Regions from separate parts of the Homo sapiens genome. Here region 2 is linked to region 1. The links are contacts of gene promoters, found by promoter capture Hi-C in blood cells and fetal thymus (Javierre and others, 2016). All regions are on one chromosome and are shown on one strand. Each heading gives the region's core, a stretch centred on a gene start or on the middle of the fragment in contact. The rest is flanking DNA. Distances are from core to core; before and after follow the strand shown. Region 1 holds the start of MYOM3-AS1 (MYOM3 antisense RNA 1). Region 2 has its middle 9.4 kb from the start of SRRM1.

Region 1 (2,700 bases), core at 42-2,541:
CCCGACTCCTAGACTGTTGGGGCAGGAAGGAGGCGTTGAAAGAGCATCCCTTCCAACCCGCTCATGTTGCAGATGAAAGCTGAGGTCAGAGAGCGACGGGGGCTAGCCCAAGCCTGCACAGTCATTGGCAGGGCCAGTACTGGAGCTAAAGAAAAAAATCAGTAATACTGATTCTGTCTCTATTGAAAATTTGGGGGCTTTAATAGTTTTTTTGCATTAATTTTGATTTTTTAGAATATTGCATACAATATTATTTATCTTGATTACTGAGTTTTTTGGTGCCTCTTAAATTTTGTGCTCAGGGCCTCACTTGCATCAACCTAGCCTCGGCCCTGCCCTGACTCCCAGCCCAGAGCTCTTGGCCCTCCCTGGCTTGCAGCCAAAGGAGAAAGTGAGCCCTGAAGCTGGAGCCACACTTGCCTCTTCAATGCAGAGAAGTCCCGTTCCCGTCTCTGGGTCATACTGACCATCTGGCATCTCTGCCCTCTGGAAGAACCACTGAAAGCGAGTCTCCTTCTTGGTGTTGGTCACCTGGGGAAGGTGGGGAATGAGGAGACTCTGTCAGGCTTGTTTCTTTTTGAGTAAAAACACACCTGTGCACACTTTCAGGCATCTCAGTGGAGTCCTTTCACATACCATGTGTCTCCTCTGCTGGCCTCTGGACTCTGAATTCTTGCTAATGGTTTTCCCTCTGCCTCTTGATCCCTGCCTTACTCTATTTTTCTTGGAAATGTCCATGTGCTTCAGTTAAATGTCATCTCCTCCAGGAAGCCTTTTTTTTGAAGCATCCCATAGTCACCCCCTCCATCACGATTCATCAATGTCCTGCCCCATCCGGGTCAAGCATGAGGGATGCTGTTTTCCAATGGTCCTGCCTTGAACATGGGCTCCCAAGGCCCACAGAGACCACTTCATCATCTTTGTACGTTCAGTACCGTGCAGAGTGGCACAAAATAGATGCTCTGAGTTTACTGAATGAATATGCTTCTGGGAGAGCACCCACCCTCCCCTTCCCCAGTTATCTAAACAGGCTGAAGAGTGCTAAGAAGGACCTTAGGCTTTGGAATCAGATAGACTTGTTCAAACCTGGGCTCTCCCTCTTACCGTGTGGCCTTGAGCTATTTCTCCATTTGTTTTCTCATCTATGAAGTGAGGATAGTAATGCCTGTGTCACAGATGATTGTGAGGCGGATGAAATAATACTGTGAGTCTCTGAGCACAGGGTAATCATAAACACAGGGATACCCCTCAACATATAAACCCTCGTGGGCTCCTAGACCCCCTGACCCCTCAGAACCCCTTCTGGAGCCACTAGGATCTCGTTCAAGGCTGGTCCACCTCACACGAATCCTACCCCATGGGCGCTGGGAAGGTGGGTTTGCTTTTTGGGTTACGTGTGGTCTCCTCGGGGGTACTTTCTGTGTGTGCGATCAGCCAAGCACAGAGTATGGAATTTAGGGGGCCGGGTGGGCAGGGACAGCAACTGGGCTTGGGGACAAGCCACAGGTCCCCCTGCACTGGGCCTGGGGGCAGGGCAGGGCAGGACTTGCCTTGCACGTCAGCTGCACTTGGCAGTCCTCCGTGACCTTCCACTGCAACGGCCGCTCAAAATAGGGACCTGTGCGTGCAAAACAAATGTGCCCACTGTCAGAGAGCCAGGCTCAGCCAGGGTGCCACCTGTGTCCAGGCAGTGCTGGGGGGAGGGACAGCTAATGGCTATGGACTTCTCAGATGCTGCCTCTGCCAGGGCTGGGACTGGGGTGAGGCAGGGGCGGTGCTCAGAGCGCAAATTTCTTTCTTTCTTTCTTCCTTCCTTTCTTTCTTTCTTTCTTTCCTTCTTTCTTTCTTTCTTTCCTTCTTTCTTTCTTTCTTTCTTTCTTTCTTTCTTTCTTTCTTTCTTTCCTTCTTTCTTTCTTTTTCCTTCCTTCCTTCCTTCCTTCCTTCCTTCCTTCCTTCCTTCCTTCCTTCCTTCCTTTGTTTCCTTCCTTCTTTCTTTCTTTCTTTATTTTTGAGACAGAGTCTCGCTCTGTTGCCTAGGCTAGAGTGCAGTGGCGCAATCTCGGCTCACTGCAAGCTCCGCCTCCTGGTTTCAAGGATTCTTGTGGCTCAGCCTCCTGAGTAGCTGGAATTACAGGCGTGTGCCACCATGCTCGGCTAATTTTTGTATTTTTCATAGAGATAGGGTTTCACCATGTTGGCCAGGCTGGTCTTGAACTCCTGGCCTCAAGTGATCTGACCACCTTGGCCTCCCAAAGTGCTAGGATTACAGGTGTGGGGCACTGTGCCTGGCTTCAGGGTGCAAAATTTAAGAGGGCTCAGCTCTCACCCTCAGGTCAGGCAAGAGCTATTTTGATCTGGCACTGGGACAGAACTGGACTGAATGACAGTGGACCTCCCTTGGGGACCCAGCAGGGCTGGGGTTCCCATTAATCCGCAGTCCAGCATCTCTAGCACGAACCAGTGGCCAGGGATTTTGAACTTCACCCCAGCAGCTCTTACCCTGTTTTCTCTTCCAGTCCCTTCTCTTAGCATCTGCCTTCCTCAGAAGCTTGTCAAAATCTGTGAACACAGAGGGAGGAACTGGCATGAGCCGAGAGGAGTGTGGGTCTGGAGAGGGGACATGGGGTGGACAGAAGTCGAGGGGGCTGTGCTCAGCAGGCTGCAGAGCCGAGGACTCAGGGCTGCAGGGCAGGCCAGGTG
Region 2 (2,700 bases), core at 144-2,643, 570 kb after region 1:
GGAACTTGGACTTCAATAATTCATGGACTCATAGACTTCATCTTCATACCTATCCAGCCTAAGGGTCTTTATCTATTGCCCATGGGTAACTGGACTACAATTCTCCAGGGTCAAAAGAGAAGTCTTGTTTATCATATATGCTGAATGGTCTCTAGCCAGCCCTACATTTACAAGACAATGTGTTAAGGACCCTGCCTAGCTAGGGAATTTGGGTGTGGGAGGTAAAGAGAAAAAAGAAAGGCCACTTAGAGCAACAAGAGCTATTGATTATTTTTAAATGAAGTCAAGGATGATTTTTAATCACTGACCACTATGACCCCTGCTGTCCAAGTGTTGCTGGGCCTGAAGGTGAAGAAAATTGGCACAGGCCTCACTGGCTTTCCCTTCCTCTCACCTTGTGGATTTGGGAACCAGCTGGGAGGCAGTCACTGGCCAGATGAAGAAAGGCTTGTTTGCTCATTCACCAGAAAGATAAGATCTGTCTATATTCCCTCCTCCAGCCATTTGCTTTAACACCTACATGAATGTCAAGCAACTGGTAATGTGGTCTTAACCCTAAGCAGATGGACCAAACCCTGAAAGTAAGTTCTGTTGTATGTTGCCTGTGTGATTTTACACAACTCACTTTTTCTCACGCCTTACTGTACTCATCTGTAAAACAGGAATAATACCGATGTATTAGCTTGCTAGGGCTGCCATAACAAAGTATCACACACTGGGTGGCTTAAGCAACAGAAGTGTATTTTATCACTGTTCTGGAGGCTGGAAGTCCAAGATCAAGTGTCAGCAGGGTTGTTTTCTTCTGAAGCATCTCTCCTTGGCTTATAGGTGGCCGTCTGCTCCTTATGTCTTAATTTGGTCTTCCCTCTGTGTGTGCGTCTGTATCTTAATTTCCTCTTCTTCTTTATTTATTTATTTATTTTTGAGATAGGTCTTGCTCTGTCACCCAGGCTGGAGTGCAGTGGCACGATCTTGGCTCACTGCAACCTCCGCCTCCTAGGTTCAACAATTCTCCTGCCGCAGCCTCCCAAGTAGCGGGGACGACAGGCACCTGCCACTACGCCCAGCTGATTTTTGTGTTTTTAGTAGAGATGGGGTTTCACCATGTTGGCCAGGCTGGTCTCGAACCCCTGACCTCAAGTGATCCGCTCACCTCGGCCTCCCAAAGTGCTGGGATTACAGGCATGAGTCACTGTGCCCAGCCAATTTCCCCTTCTTATAAGGACTCCAATTATATTGGATAAGGACCCACCTAATGGTCTCATTCTAACTTAATTACCTTTTTAAGGACGCTATCTCCAAATACAGTCACATTCCAAGGTACTGGAGGTTAGGACCTCAATATGAATTTGGAGATGGTGAAGGGACAGGGCAGGGGTTGAGAGGGGGAGACAATTCGGCCAGGGGTTGGGAGGGGGAGACAATTCAGCCTGTAACAATCTGCTAGATATTATTGTGAAGACTGAATTAGCTAAAGTGTTTAAAGCATTAACACAAAGCCTGACATAATATGACCCCCCCAAAATGGTAATTATTATTATGAAATCCCATATAAAAGAAAAGTACTGCCATCTAAATACAGAGAGAACATAGACAGGTACAGGGAATTCCAACCATGGTTCTTCATTTCCCATCTGATGGGTGCTGCTCTTATTCTTCCAGCTCTTGTTTTAAAAATATGCAAACATGGGCTGGGCGCGGTTGCTCACACCTGTAATCCCAGCACTTTGGGAGGCCGAGATGGGCAGATCACGAGGTCGAGAGATGAGACTATCCTGGCCAACATGGTGAAACCCCGTCTCTACTAAAAATAACAAAAATTAGCCAGCCGTGGTGGTGTGCCTGTAGTCCCAGCTACTTGGGAGGCTGAGGCAGGAGAATTGCTTGAACCTGGGAGGCAGAGGTTGCAGTGAGCCGAGATCGTGCCACTGCACTCCAGCCTGGCGACAGAGCAAGACTCCACCTAAAATATATATATATGCAAACATGGCCGGGCACAGTGGCTCACGTCTGTAATCTCGGCAGTTTGGGAGGCTGAGGCGGGCGGATCACTTAAGGTCAAAAGTTCGAGATCAGCCTAGCAAACATGGTAAAACTCCATCTCTACTAAAAATACAAAAATTAGCCAAGTGTGTTGGCACATGCCTGTAATCCCAACTACTTAGGAGGCTGAAGTCAGAGAATTGCTTGAACCCGGGAGCCGGAGGTTGCAGTGAGCCGAGATCATGCCACTGCACTCCAGCCTGGGCAACAGAGTGAGACTCCATCTAAAAAAAAAAAAGAAAAGAAAAAAAATGCAGCCAGGCACGGTGGCTTACGTCTGTAATCCCAGCACTTTGGGAGGCCAAGACGGGAATATCACTTGAGGTCAGGAGTTCAAGACCAGCCTGGCCAACATGGTGAAACCCCATCTCTAATAAAAATACAAAAATTAGCCTGGCATAATGCCGCATGCCTGTAATCCCAGCTTTGCTCGGGAGGCTGTGGCAGGAGAATTGCTTGAACCCGGGAGGCGGAGGTTGCAGTGAGCTGATATCGCACCACTGCACTCCAGCCTGTGTGACAGAGCGAGACTCTGTCTCCAAAAAAAAAAAAAAAAAGCAAACATAATACTTGAATATAACATCTGTGGAGGTCTTTCCATGGGATGACAAGCAAAGATGTTACGTTTTTCTCTGATGCCTGTTGCTGTTATTCTTC

Evidence for each region. The method cuts DNA at HindIII sites, captures the fragments that hold promoters and counts their contacts. A CHiCAGO score of 5 or more calls a contact.
Region 2: a fragment that was not itself captured here is called in contact with the fragment with the promoter of MYOM3-AS1 in region 1 in 2 of 17 cell types (naive B cells and total B cells); the score reaches 7.3 in naive B cells.

The regions. Positions count from the first base shown.
Region 1 is chr1:24,065,471-24,068,170 of GRCh38, forward strand. MYOM3-AS1 (MYOM3 antisense RNA 1) reads left to right here and starts at 1,292. Exons shown (of 3, transcript XR_001737930.2): 1 at 1,292-1,372. It overlaps MYOM3 (myomesin 3), which reads right to left. Exons shown (of 37, transcript NM_152372.4): 27 at 2,500-2,559; 28 at 1,551-1,618; 29 at 421-531. The HindIII fragment of the contact is 6,627 bases long and covers 1-2,546 here.
Region 2 is chr1:24,632,519-24,635,218 of GRCh38, forward strand. No RefSeq gene overlaps it. Among named protein-coding and RNA genes, the nearest start is that of SRRM1, 9.4 kb to the right of the region's middle. The HindIII fragment of the contact is 3,320 bases long and covers 1-2,700 here.